5 separate regions of the Homo sapiens genome follow, and regions 1, 2, 4 and 5 are each linked to region 3. The links are contacts of gene promoters, found by promoter capture Hi-C in blood cells and fetal thymus (Javierre and others, 2016). All regions are on one chromosome and are shown on one strand. Each heading gives the region's core, a stretch centred on a gene start or on the middle of the fragment in contact. The rest is flanking DNA. Distances are from core to core; before and after follow the strand shown.

Region 1 (2,700 bases), core at 68-2,567, 150 kb before region 3:
GTTACTGCTAAATTGTTAAGTTCCCTAAGAACTTGTATGTTTGCTTGCACACTCATCTCTAATCACTGCATCATTCACGCCCTCATTTACTCAGGTCTCTGCTCAACTGACAGCTCCTTGGAGAGGCCTTCCCTGAACCAACCTATTTGAAATCACTCACCCTTTTATCACTTTTTTTTTAAAAAAAACTGCCTTGGCTGGGCGCAGTGGCTCACGCCTGTAATCCCAGCACTTTGGGAGGCCAAGGGGGTGTATCACCTAAGGTCGGGAGTTGAACACCAGCCTGACCAACACGGAGAAACCCTGTCTCTACTAAAACTACAAAATTAGCCAGGCATGGTGGTGCATGCTTGTAATCCCAGCTACTTGGGAGGCTGAGGCAGGAGAACCGCTCAAACCCAGGAGGCGGAGGTTGCGGTGAGCAGAGATAGCGCCATTGCACTCCGGCCTGGGCAACGAAAGCAAAATTCCATCTCAAAAAAAAACCAACCAACCAACCAAACAAACAAACAGAACAGCCTTAGTGAGCTGTATTTCACGTATCATAAAACTCACTCGTTTCAAGTGCAAAATTCAATGATTGTTATCATTTTATTTAGTGTTGCAACAATCACGTAGATCAGTTTTGGAACATTTTTATCCCTTAAATAAGATCTCTATGCCCATTATATTAATCCCCATCTCAACACTAAGCCCCAGAAAACCATTAATCTACTTTCTGTCTCTAGAAATTTTTCTGGATATTTCATATAAATAGAATCACATAATACAGATTTGTATCTGGATTATTTTATTTAGCATGTTTTTGAGGTTCACCCATGACATAGCATGTGTCAGTAGTTTGTTCTTTTTTATTAATGAATAGTATACCATTGTATAGATTTACATTTTTTCTTTCTCTCTTTTTTTTTTTAAGACAGGAGTCTCGTTCTATTGCCCAGGCTGGAGTGCAGTGGCATGATCTCAGCTCACTGCAGCCTCCATCTCCCTGGTTCAAGTGATTCTCATGCTTCGGCCCCAGAGTAGCTGGGATTACAGGTGCATGCCACCATGCCTGGCTAATTTTTTATTTTTAGTAGAGACAGGGTTTTGCTATGTTGGCCAGGCTGGTCTTGTACTCCTGGCCTCAAGTCATCCACCCGCCCCAGCCTCCCAAAGTGCTGGGATAACAGGCACAAGCCACCACACCCAGCCTAGATATACATTTTTTAAACAATCCATTTACCAGTTGATGGGCATTTGGGATGTTTCCAGTCCTTATTATTTTAAAAGTTGCTGTGGACATTTGTGTGTGTTTGTGTGGTTATGATCTTAATTCTCTTAGGTAAACAGCTACAAGTAGAAATGATGGGTCATATGGTAGTTTTGTGCTTTGCCTTCTGAGAAACTGACAAACTGTTTTCCAACTGGCTACACTATTTTACATTTCCACCAGAAAGTGGAAATTCCACAATTTAAAAAGATTCTTGTTTTTCTGCGTCCTTACCAACATTTGTTAATGTGTGTCTTATTTATTATAGTCATTTTAGTGAGTGTGAAGTGGTATCTCATTGTAGTTTTAATTTGCCTTTCCTTCCTCTATTACCTTCTATCCTCTTTATTTTTTTCTTAACACTTATTATTACCTTAGGTTTTTAAAAACATTTCTGTTTATTGGTTGTCGCACTCCCCTAATTTAATGTAAATACCATGAAGGCAGAAACATTGTCTTGTTCTTCTCCATATCCCTAACCCCTAGAACGTTTGTTGAGTAAGTAAATAAACATATCCTTCTCATGTGTTCATCTCTTCTTGTTCAGCAGCCTAGAAAGATACACTTGATAGGTGCCCTGTCTGGGATATTGAAAAGCTGAAAAGCTCAGCTTCTTCAAGTTTGCATGGGCAGATGACAGTTTATAAGTTGTCAATTTTGGATTTTGCATACATGTATATATGTACACATATGTTTGCAGATGTATATGCACACACACACACACACACACATCCTGGCATTTCTATATGAGGCTTAATACATCTGATTATCAAAAGGACAAAGTTCAAAGCAAATGCAGAAAAAAAAATGAATGAGCGTAAGCGCAATACAGAGTTGTCAAGTAAATGTTATGGTTATCTAGAAACTGAATGGCCATTACATTTACAAATGTCAATACTAGGTGCAGATTGATAGCAAGACCTGACACAATGTCACTTGAATAAATCAAACAAGGTTATTTATCCAAAGAGCACAGCATAAATTCAGCTCAGTCAAAAAAGTGAACACATTTTCCAATTCAGACAGAAGCATATCTTCACTCCAACATCTTCACTAAAAGTGTGTGCGTTATTACTGAAAACTCCTAAATGGGTGAGAAGACTCTGCAGAAATTTAGTCTCTCTTGGTCCAGCCTATCTGTGCTCATAAACAAGTGTGAATCTGCCTAGAGCCCCTCCTTGGGCAGAGGTATCTCATGTGTGTAAGGGTTATATAATGACAGCACTATTGCCCGGTCTTAGAGAACAGTTTGGTTCTCTAAGGCATCTCTCTCAGACAGTATATCCTGGTCTGAGAACATTCCTGAACTCGGTATTGTGGAACTGAAGCAGGGATCAGTTTCCTGGATCTTTGACAGACCAGCTAACAGCCATAGGGTGTATCCTGAAGTGAAGAGTCAGTAGATAAAAAATAGTTAAGAAGCTGCACAGCCATAAAGAATGGCAGAG
Region 2 (2,700 bases), core at 171-2,670, 240 kb before region 3:
GACCCACTTTATGGCTAGATGGTCAGAAAACACCTAGTTCATGATAGGCAGTTCAGATCACATGGTGAGTTGATGACCCATAGTCAAACTTTCAGTTTCCTCCAAAGCCCAGTAACAGGCCAAGAGCTGTCTCTCAAAAGAAGAGTAGTTATCTGCAGAAGATGGCAGGGCCTTGCTCCAAAATCCTAGAGGCCTCCACTGTGATTAACATATGGGACCTGTCAAAGGTTCCAAACAGCATCCCTATCTACCACTGACACCTCAAGCACCATTAGATCTGCTGGGTCATATGGCCCAAGTGGCAGAGCAGCTTGCACAGCAGCCTGGACATGTTGCAGGGCCTTCTCCTATTCTGCTCTAAACTGGCAGCATTTGGGGTCACTCAACAAATGGGCTGGAGTAACACACCCAAATGAGGAATGTGCTGCCTCCAAAATCCAAATAGGCCCACTAGGCATCGTGCTTCTTTCTTGGTTGCAGGAGGGGCCAAATGAAGCAACTTATCCTTCACCTTAGAAGGACTATCTTGACAGGCTGCACACCACTGGACCCCTAGAAATTTTACTGAGGTAGAAGTTCCCTGAATTTTAGTCAGATTTATTTCCCATCCTCTGGCATGCAAATGTCTCACCAATAAGTCCAGTGCATTTGCTACTTCTTGCTCACTGGATCCAATCAGCATAATGTCATCAACATAATGGACCAGCAGTGTGATATTTTGCAGAAGCAAAAAGCCATCAAGGTCTCTTCGAATAAGATTATGACACAAAGCCAGAGAGCTGATATACCCCTGAGGTAGGACAGTAAAGGTATATTGCTGGCCTTGCCAGCTGAAGGCAAATTGCTTCTGTTGGGCCTTATGGACAGGAATGGAGAAAAAGGCATTTGCCAAGTCAATGGCTGCATACCAGGTATCAGGAGATGTGTTAATTTGCTCAAGCAATAAAACCACATCTGGTACAGCAGCTGCAATTGGACTCACCACTTGGTTAAGCTTACGATAATCCACTGTCATTCTTCAAGATCCATCTGTCTTCTGCACAGGCCAAATGAGAGAGTTGAATGGGGATGTGTTGGGAATCCTCACCCCTGCATCTTTCCATTCCTTGAAGGTGGCACTAATCTCTGTAATCCCTCCAGGAATATGATATTGTTGTTTATTTACTATTTTTCTAGGTAGAGGCAGCTCTAATGGCTTCCATTTGGCCTTTCCCACCATAATAGTCCTCACCCTACCAGTCAGGGAGCCAATGTGGTGTTCTCCCAGCTGCTAAGTATGTCTATGCCAATTACACATTTTGGCACTAAGGAAATGACCGTAGGATGAGTCCGGGGACCCATTGTAAGTGGGACCTGAGCTAAAACTCCATTAATTACCTCACCTCCATAAGCCCCTACTTTAACTAGAGGACCACAGTGACGTTTTGGGTCTCCTGGAATCAACATCAGCTCAGACCCTGTGTCCAGTAGTCCCCAAAATGCCTGATCATTTCCCTTTCCCAGTGTACAGTTACCCTGGTAGAAGGCTGGAGGTCTCCTTGGGGAAAGATAGGAGAAAGATTCACTGCATAAATTGTCAGTAATGTAATGACTTGGCCTCTGCCACCTCAGGATCCAATCATTCCCACTGTATTTAAATTTTGTAGTTGAGTGACTGTGGTTCCCACTGTTAGACCTGACATGCAGAGAAGAGCAAGTACAGGGCTCTTCAAAGATGCAGATGCTGCCATTACAAATCTATTTTGCAAGACATTGGTCAAGGGTATATCTTCTGGACCCTCCAAGCTGGGATGAGTAGGTCTAAAGTGATGAATCCACTGCACCATCCCAATCTCCCTAAGCTTTTGGATCCCTTCCTCTACATTAAACCAAGGGAGATCAGGCATTTCCAGCTTGCTTGCAGTGGGCCATCTTTTAAACTGTATTTCAGCTAACCAAGTAAATAAACTATTAGAACCCTTTTTAACTCCCTGAGCTGCAATGTTAAATGCACAGTCTCTACTTAGTGGGCCCAAATCAATAAATTCAGCCTGATCCAGCTCTATGTTCCTTCCACCATTATCCCATACCCTTAATATCCGTTCCCATTCCCTCCAGGCTGCCGTTTATATAAATTAGAGAACTCAAGCAGTTCTTTTCAAGTGTAGCATACCTCCTCATGGGTCGCACTCTGAACCTCACCTCTAGGGGCCCACTGGGACTTTAGTCTAGTTACAGGTCTAGAAGCAGATAGGAGTGTTAGGGGTGGCTCCTGAGGAGAATCAACATTATTTTGACTGGCAACTGCCTCATGGGGGGCCATCAGTGTTGCCTCAGACAGCACAGGGTTTATCTCCTCAGACAAAGGTGGAAAGGCTGATAGCAGCATGGGTTGGGGAGGGGATGTTGCCACTACTGGGGATGAGAAAGCTGTATCTTCTGGCAAAAATGGTTCATCAGCGTTTACAAACTCAGTGTCCCCAGCTTCATCAGGGTCCTCCCACACGTCCTCATTCCAAGTTGCAGGGTCCCATTCCAGCCAATGCCCTCACTTTAACAGTAGACACCTGGTAAGGCTGTGCATGCCCCTTTTGTGGCAGTTCAGCCACTCGCATGATAAAAGTCTGTGTCTGTTTTTTCACAATTTCACCTCTTTTTCTACAGGAGATAAGACTCTCACTCAAAGCAATCTTAGTAGATTTGAGGCTCAGTATCTGCTTC
Region 3 (2,700 bases), core at 62-2,561:
AAAATGAGAACTACTATGAGTTAGAGTTGTATCATTTCTCCATATAACTTGAATCTTTATACTTCAAACATTTGCACATTACATGTATATTTGTACATATAACACATACTTGTATATATATTCCCTATTACTATAATAGTATTTATTAAGAATAATGATGAATATTGTGCCGGGGAGTCCTCTAATTATGGCTTAAAAAGAAATCTTTCAGCTTGGGCAACATGGCGAAACCCCATCTCTACAAAAAAATACAAAAATTAGCTGGGTGTGATGGTGCACGCCTGTAGTCCCAGCTACTTACTGAGGCAGGAGATCGCTTGAACCTGGGAGGTCAAGGCTACAGTGAGTCGAGATTTCACCACTGCACTCCAGCCTGGGACACGAAGTGAGACCCTGTTTCAAAAAAAAAAAAAATTTAACAGAGTAAGAACCTATACTTTAACTGGAGGGCGATGTGAGGAGTCAAAATAATTGATTAATCAATTATGTCCTCAGCATTGAAAGTCATTGTTTTTGTCTGGAGATGTGTAAAACGTACACTTTGATCTCCAGTTGTTTATAGTCTACTTGGGAATATAAATCTAACAAGAAATATGTAATAACAATAATAACAGCTAACATTGTTGAGTACTGTGTACCGGGCATTGTACTGAGTACATTATATAAATTATTTTACTTAATCCTCATAACCATCAGAGTAGGAAGATTTCATCTTTTTTCCCTCTTTTTATAGTTGGAACTGAGGCTTAGATGTGTGCAAATAAGTGGCAAGGTTCAGATTCAAAATCAGCTAAATTTTATTTGAAGCCTAAAACACTTAACCCACCTACCTTTTATCTACTAAGCCTGTTAGTTCAAAGATTACCTGAAGGTAAATTTTATCAGGCCAGCTTTGGATCTGGGGGGAAAAAATGAAGGTAAATTTTAACTTGAATCGATCTAGACTGTTTATAATGGAATCTGTTGCCTAGCATAAGTTAAGCATGTTGAGGTCACAAAGGATAAGAAATTACCCTTAAGGGATGAAAATTCTTTAGAATAGAATGCAGTAGGCCCACGCAAACAACAACGTGTATAAATAGCTTAAATTAGCCTGTTTTTGCCTAAGTACATTAACTCAAAAGGAAACTCGGTTTAAGAAGTTCACTCCAAAAATAGTGCAAGAAGCATCACTGGTCCATAAAGAGGGGTGGAGTGGGTTACGTCATTTCAGCACCTTTTAAGGTAAAGGAGGAGGGAATCCTCTTGAACTCATTAGCCAATCAGGTTCTGAAGACACTTCCCAAGGCGACTTCCTGTCTCTCCACTTTCTTTCCCTCTCCGTTTTGGTGGGCTGGTGAGTGTGCGCTTAATTTTGCTCTCTAATTGTTTTGAATTTCTCTTCCATTTGAGTTATATACCCAGGTGGCAGGCCTTTATTTCAAGTCGGCATAGGAGTGTGTGTGAGTCGCAAGGAGATTAATTTCGGCTGTGTGGAGGTTGGGAGAAGGCAGTGAAATGCTCTTCCTGGCTTGTTTCCACGTGGGCCTCTGCAGTACTGGGTTTGCCTTCCGTCTCCGAGTCCTGGTGACCCAGGAACAATAGACTGTGCTTCATGTGCACAGTGCGTGTGTTCTTGGAAAACGCCGGCTTCATTTTGCTTGGCGGGAAAGATATTATCATCCTAATGCTGTTTTGATTTATATCTCCCTGGGTGAGGTCAGATTTCGGGAGAAGGCGTTCAGCTCAGTAGAGTTTAATTCTCCGGTGAGTGTCTAGAGGGCCCAGGTCCTTACTGGGTTTGTGGAAGCTGCAGCGTACCTTGTCTTTCTCCTGGCCTTCGCTCAGATCATTTCGGCTTTCTTGGTGAACCTGGGCAGCAAACTCTGAAGACAGATAAGCCTTAAAAGGAGCTCCTAATTTTTAATGTTGCCACTGTGGTGATTGTGTCCTTAAAAGCTATGGAAAAAGATTAGGGACCTTAGTTCAGGGCAAGCCTCTAGATTTAAATTCCAGCGCCACAGTTTACAGCTCTGGTGACCTTGGGAGAAGCAGTGAGCCATTCCGAGGCTTAGCTTTCCAAGATCAGATAAAATATATAAAAACTAGGCTCTAGTTGGTGTGTAATAAATGTTAGGTACCTTTAGAAGTAAGCAGTACTTATTTATTTACAGCAAGTATTTTGGATATCTGTTTTCTCATAAAAAGTTTGCTTAGTGACCTTCAATGTCATTTCACTGAATTCCTTTCTTTTGGTACATGTTAATTTTAATGTGATGTTTGTGTTGGATATTCTTATAGGCAGAAAGTGTGAGAAAGACAAATAATAAACCAGTTAATCGAATGTAGTAATAGGTATTTGTAGGCCTCCCATAATTTTTATAATTCTCAAGCATTGTTAAAATTTATTTTTTGGGGCATGGCGGCGCATGCCTGTAATCCCAGCTACTCGGGAGGCTGAGGCAGGAGAATCGCTTGAACCCGGGAGGTGGAGGTTGCGGTGAGCCGAGATCGCGCCATTGCACTCCAGCCTGGGCAACAAGAGCGAAACTCTGTCTCAAAAAAAAAAAAAAAAAAAAAAAAATATATATATATATATATATATGTATACACATCATATATATATATATTTTTGAATAGGTAATACATTCACATGGTTCAAAATTCAAAAGATATCAAAGTTTCTTATCCCCTTCCCTAAGCCATCCAATTCCTCTCCCT
Region 4 (2,738 bases), core at 145-2,644, 220 kb before region 3:
AGTGCACTAGGGTTCCAGTTTCTCAAAACCCTCATCAATACTTCTTTTTTTAATATCTAATAGCAATTTCAATGGATATGAAGTGGCGATGCAACACTAACTTTAAATTATACTTACTCAGTGAAAGAATGTAGGCAAAGCATTCCCAAGAGTAAGAAAAACTATAAACACAGCATTTTGTTTCCTAACCAGAATAAACCCAATTGGTATTCTCTTTGAAAATTTCTGATGTCTATGATGTTATTGATTAAGTAAATAGGAGAAAAGTCTAGCCCAATGAACAGACAGCACAGTTGCTCCCGTCCCTTTGTGTTAGTGGAAGTTGCGAGACAAAGTAGTAAATGCCATTTTTGCTCATTTCTGCTTGCCAGCATAATTTCACAAAGCCCCTCACTCTATGACAACCTGCAGCTCTTTGAGAAGAATGTTTGAAGATACCACAGAATAGAGTGCACGGTCCCCATGCTCCGTGTCTGTTTACCTGACTCACTATATTCCTAAAGATAAATTACACCAGTCCTTGCGTTTTCTTACGCATAAAATAAGGTCTGACCAGGTTAGTGATTATACTCCTGTAATCTATAACCAGATGTACTCTTACACCCAAACCTTGATGTGATTCTGCTTTAATGTAACTTCTGAGCAAATTTGATGTGATTTCACATATACTGAATCTTTACCACCTGTAAATTGTCAACTAAAATACTGCATGGGAGCCATCTAATAGAACCCCTCTAAAGGGCTGCTCCTGGGCTATAGGCCTCCCAGCCTGTAGACCTCAGTAAGACTTCTGAATAAAACTAATTTTAATTATTTAAAAGTTGGATCTTTTTTTTCTTTAGTTGACAGGATTCTCCAGGGGAACAGCATCAATAGGATAGGTATACGTAAGGGAATTTTTTAGGGAGAATTGGCTCACATGATTAAAAGCGAAGTCCCACAATAGGCCGACAGGCCATATGCAAGCTAGAGAATGACAGAAGCTGGTAGCAAGCAAGGTTGTTAGAGAAGCTGGTCTGAGGCTGAAGGCCTCAGAGCTGCCACAGGGTGGGAAGGTTGTGGGGAGCAAGCAGTCAATTGAATGGTGCCTGCCCACATTGAGGGCAGGTCTTCCTCTCTCAGTCTCACCTGCCAGTCTCCTCTGGAAACTGCCTCACCTGCCAATCTCCTCTGGAAACACCCCCACAGACACCCCCAGGAACAGTGCTTCACCAGCCATCTAGGCATCCTTCAACCCAATCAAGCTGACACCTAATTTAACCATTCACACCTTTCTATTCTAGCACGATATTCTTAGATGACATTAGGAAAAGAATAAAACCAAAGCTACTAACTATCCCTGTGCTGCTCCTTGAAAATTGGTGATGCTAAATTGAACCCTATTCATTTGCCCTGTAATATTTTGGTACAAAGTTGAATTAATATTCCTGATAAATTCAGAGCCAATAACTTTTATTCATATATATATATATGTATATATTGTAGCAGTCACAATACCTCACACAGTATCTTCTCTATAATATAAAATTTTCGAAGTGTTTTTATATACCCTTTCACTGTTCATCATTACCTCTTGTGTCACAAGTAAGGGGATCATATTCTCTGTCCACTGTTTCCTATTTTTCCTGTCACACAACAAATAAGGATTAAAAAATGAAATCACATATTTTATCCCAATCTTTCTTCTCTTTCTCTAAGATGGATCTTTCTCACATGTCTCTGACATAAGATCATGACATTTGTGAACTGTCATATTTTTAGAAACACAAGGAAGCAGTGGCTCATCCCTTCCTCATCACATCTGATGCATTCATTGCATAATTTGCATTGAATACAAGAAGAAATATTCCACCTAAGTTTCCATAGTTGAAAGATTACAAGAGCTAGTCATCAATATCAAGTTCTTCTTGAAAGATCAAAGGAGATACCTGGAGCCTTTGGAGCGTGCTTCGAGTCCTATCAAACTGAAGGTAAATTAGTCTTTAACCAAGTGAGATTTTGAATTCAGGGGCATTTCCCATAAGATAGAATGATGACACTGACATGTTTTCCAGCTACTAGATTATAACTTCAAGTGAACAAGAACATTCGCAGTGATGGGTATATACACAAATGTGCTGCCTTACTTAATTCAAAATATTCAAATATTTGACATTATTCCATTGTCAAAGATTTTCTTCCTTCTCTTTTTAAAATATGTTCATTACAAGTGGGTACAAGCAACTCACCACTTCAATATACACCCTAGTGTAATAATGCCCTAGTATTTCCATAACGAAATGCATAGTATTTCAAGCATTCTCTCATTCTTTTCTATCCTCAATGCCTAATGCCTGCCACTTAATATTCAATAAGTATTTTTAAATGAACAAATACATTACATATAATACAGAATTTTCAATTATATAAACATTTTGATGAACTAATTTTTTACCCATATTCCACAGCATGCACTGTGTTCATTGTTCAGGTGAGAGATCAACAAAGGGGAGAGCAGCACATTTTTGGATTTTCCATATTGGTCTAGGAACCTGTGCAGCAAACATCAAAATAGAGAGTGGGCTTCTAAGGAGGAGGGAACATTAAGAATATGAAAGGGAGGAATTTCAGGAGAAAATAAGAGTAAGAGAATGAGGGATTTTACCCTGCTTGAGAGGCAGGATGGAAGATGACCAAGGGTTGGACATGAAAAGAACTCTAAGGAGGTGTTTACAACAGGAAGAAGAGTAAGGTCAGTA
Region 5 (2,700 bases), core at 69-2,568, 170 kb before region 3:
TCCCGGACGGGGCGGCTGGCCAGGCGGGGGGCTGATCCCCCCACCTCCCTCCCGGACGGGGCGGCTGGCCGGGCGGGGGGCTGACCCCCCCCACCTCCCTCCCGGACGGGGCGGCTGGCCGGGCGGGGGGCTGACCCCCCCACCTCCCTCCCGGACGGGGCGGCTGGCCGGGCGGGGGGCTGACCCCCCACCTCCCTCCTGGACTGGGCGGCTGGCCAGGCGGGGGGCTGATCCCCCCACCTCCCTCCCGGACTGGGCGGCTGGCCGGGCAGAGGGGCTCCTCACTTCCCAGTAGGGGCGGCCGGGCAGAGGCGCCCCTCACCTCCTGGATAGGGCGGCTGGCCGGGCGGGGGGCTGACCCCCACCACCTCCCTCCCGGACGGGGCGGCTGGCCGGGCAGGGGGCTGACCCCCCCTCCCCCCTCCCGGACGGGACGGCTGGCCGGGCAGAGGGGCTCCTCACTTCCCAGTAGGGGCGGCCGGGCAGAGGCGCCCCTCACCTCCCGGACTGGGCGGCTGGCCGGGCGGGGGGCTGACCCCCCCCACCTCCCTCCCGGACGGGGCGGCTGGCCGGGCAGATGGGCTCCTCACTTCCCAGTAGGGGCGGCCGGGCAGAGGAGCCCCTCACCTCCCGGACGGGGCGGCTGGCCGGGCGGGGGGCTGACCCCCCCCCACCTCCCTCCCGGACGGGGTGGCTGCCGGGCGGAGACGCTCCTCACTTCCCAGACGGGGTGGCTGCCGGACGGAGGGGCTCCTCACTTCTCAGACGGGGCGGTTGCCAGGCAGAGGGTTTCCTCACTTCTCAGACGGGGCGGCCGGGCAGAGACGCTCCTCACCTCCCAGACAGGGTTGCGGCCCAGCAGAGGCGCTCCTCACATCCCAGACAGGGCGGCGGGGCAGAGGTGCTCCCCACATCTCAGACGATGGGCGGCCGGGCAGAGACGCTCCTCACTTCCTAGATGGGATGGCGGCGGGGAAGAGGCGCTCCTCGCTTCCTAGATGGGATGGCGGCCGGGCAGAGACGCTCCTCACTTTCCAGACTGGGCAGCCAGGCAGAGAGGCTCCTCGTATCCCAGACGATGGGCGGCCAGGCAGAGACGCTCCTCACTTCCCAGACGGGGTGGCGGCCAGGCAGAGGCTGCAATCTCGGCACTTTGGGAGGCCAAGGCAGGCGGCTGGGAGATGGAGGTTGTAGCGAGCTGAGATCACGCCACTGCACTCCAGCCTGGGCACCATTGAGCACTGAGTGAACCAGACTCCGTCTGCAATCCCGGCACCTTGGGAGGCCAAGGCTGGCGGATCACTCGCGGTTAGGAGCTGGAGACCAGCCCGGCCAACACAGTGAAACCCCGTCTCCACCAAAAAAGTACGAAAACCAGTCAGGCGTGGTGGCGCGCGCCTGCAATCGCAGGCCCTCGGCAGGCTGAGGCAGGAGAATCAGGCAGGGAGGTTGCAGTGAGCCGAGATGGCAGCAGTACCGTCCAGCTTTGGCTCGGCATCAGAGGGAGACCGTGGAAGGAGACCGTGGAGGGAGAGGGAGAGGGAGAGGGAGAGGGAGAGGGAGAGGGAGAGGGAGAGGGAGAGGGAGAGGGAGCAAACTCACTTTTTCATCCTTATGATTTGTCTATATATTCTTTTGGGGTTTCTAAACACAGACACTGTTTCATGGGTGAATCAATCAGAGTTTTACTTTTTCTTGTCTGGCACTGGAGCTCTTTCTTTGTCCTACCCTACAGCATTGGCTGAGACCTCCAGCACCATAACTTGTAGAACCGCAGATCAAGGCACTTTCAGGATTCACATTCAGTGAGGTTTGCCAGAGTTACTTCTGCTCCTCTAGCAATTGATCAGATAACGCTTTTTCATTATTCTTGTTGTATTCGCTGGATACACGCTGCTTGAGCTTTGGAGCCTCGCAGTGGTGTGTACGTGTGGCGGGGGCTGGCCTGTGAGCTCCTCTCCGCTGCTGTCCTTGCTGGGTTAGGGACTGAGGCTACGTTGGCCTCAGGAGCTGGTGAGTGCTCCCTTGTCTTTCTGGAAGAGTTTTGTGGACGTGCATTACTTTCCCTGTAAATGGTTGGTAGAATGCTGTGGTGATGCTGTCTGCGCCTGGAGTTCTTTGTGAGAGAAGGTTGTAATGACAGATTCCTTTTTTTTTTTTTTTTTTTGAGACGGAGTCTCTCTCTGTCGCCCAGGCTGGAGTGCGGTGGCGCGATCTCGGCTCACTGCAAGCTCCGCCTCCCAGGTTCACGCCATTCTCCTGCCTCAGCCTCCCAAGTAGCTGGGACTACAGGCGCCCGCCACCGCGCCCGGCTAATTTTTTGTATTTTTTAGTAGAGACGGGGTTTCACCGTGTTAGCCAGAATGGTCTCGATCTCCCGACCTCGTGACCCGCCCGCCTCGGCCTCCCAAAGTGCTCGAAAATTTATTAAAAAATTATTTATTTTAAAAAAGAGAGAGGACTTCCATGTTGTTCCTTGAGGCACCCAACACCTCTGTGACTTACGTACATGCATAAGCAGCTGCAGAGATTCTTGTGTCCTCTCGTTCCCCAAGTTCTTCCCTCCCAGGGTTTCCTTCTTCGTGAGCAGTGCCCTGGCTGCTAGTCTGAAGAAAAATGGTTATCTTCTGGTGGTCCACGTGCTCTTAAACACACACTTACTTCCTAAACCCACTCCCCGTTTCACTTCCTCCGCCTAGC

What was found. Contacts are between HindIII fragments. The CHiCAGO score rates a contact against its expected background, and 5 or more counts as called.
Region 1: a fragment that was not itself captured here is called in contact with the fragment with the promoter of CCNB1IP1 in region 3 in 2 of 17 cell types (naive CD4 T cells and fetal thymus); the score reaches 5.8 in naive CD4 T cells.
Region 2: a fragment that was not itself captured here is called in contact with the fragment with the promoter of CCNB1IP1 in region 3 in 1 of 17 cell types (activated CD4 T cells); the score reaches 5.5 in activated CD4 T cells.
Region 4: a fragment that was not itself captured here is called in contact with the fragment with the promoter of CCNB1IP1 in region 3 in 10 of 17 cell types (naive CD8 T cells, activated CD4 T cells, erythroblasts and 7 more); the score reaches 9.4 in naive CD8 T cells.
Region 5: the fragment with the promoter of RNASE10 here is called in contact with the fragment with the promoter of CCNB1IP1 in region 3 in 2 of 17 cell types (M0 macrophages and M2 macrophages); the score reaches 6.0 in M0 macrophages.

What each region holds. Positions count from the first base shown.
Region 1 is chr14:20,482,774-20,485,473 of GRCh38, reverse strand. No RefSeq gene overlaps it. Among named protein-coding and RNA genes, the nearest start is that of PNP, 15 kb to the right of the region's middle. The HindIII fragment of the contact is 4,099 bases long and covers 1-2,700 here.
Region 2 is chr14:20,568,211-20,570,910 of GRCh38, reverse strand. No RefSeq gene overlaps it. Among named protein-coding and RNA genes, the nearest start is that of RNASE9, 8.5 kb to the right of the region's middle. The HindIII fragment of the contact is 847 bases long and covers 997-1,843 here.
Region 3 is chr14:20,331,890-20,334,589 of GRCh38, reverse strand. It overlaps CCNB1IP1 (cyclin B1 interacting protein 1), which reads left to right and starts at 1,311. Exons shown (of 7, transcript NM_021178.5): 1 at 1,311-1,336. RefSeq lists an enhancer at 1,232-1,541. The HindIII fragment of the contact is 11,464 bases long and covers 1-2,700 here.
Region 4 is chr14:20,550,181-20,552,918 of GRCh38, reverse strand. No RefSeq gene overlaps it. Among named protein-coding and RNA genes, the nearest start is that of RNASE9, 9.5 kb to the left of the region's middle. The HindIII fragment of the contact is 3,221 bases long and covers 1-2,738 here.
Region 5 is chr14:20,504,155-20,506,854 of GRCh38, reverse strand. RNASE10 (ribonuclease A family member 10 (inactive)) reads right to left here and starts at 1,318. Exons shown (of 2, transcript NM_001386206.3): 1 at 836-1,318. The HindIII fragment of the contact is 24,242 bases long and covers 1-2,700 here.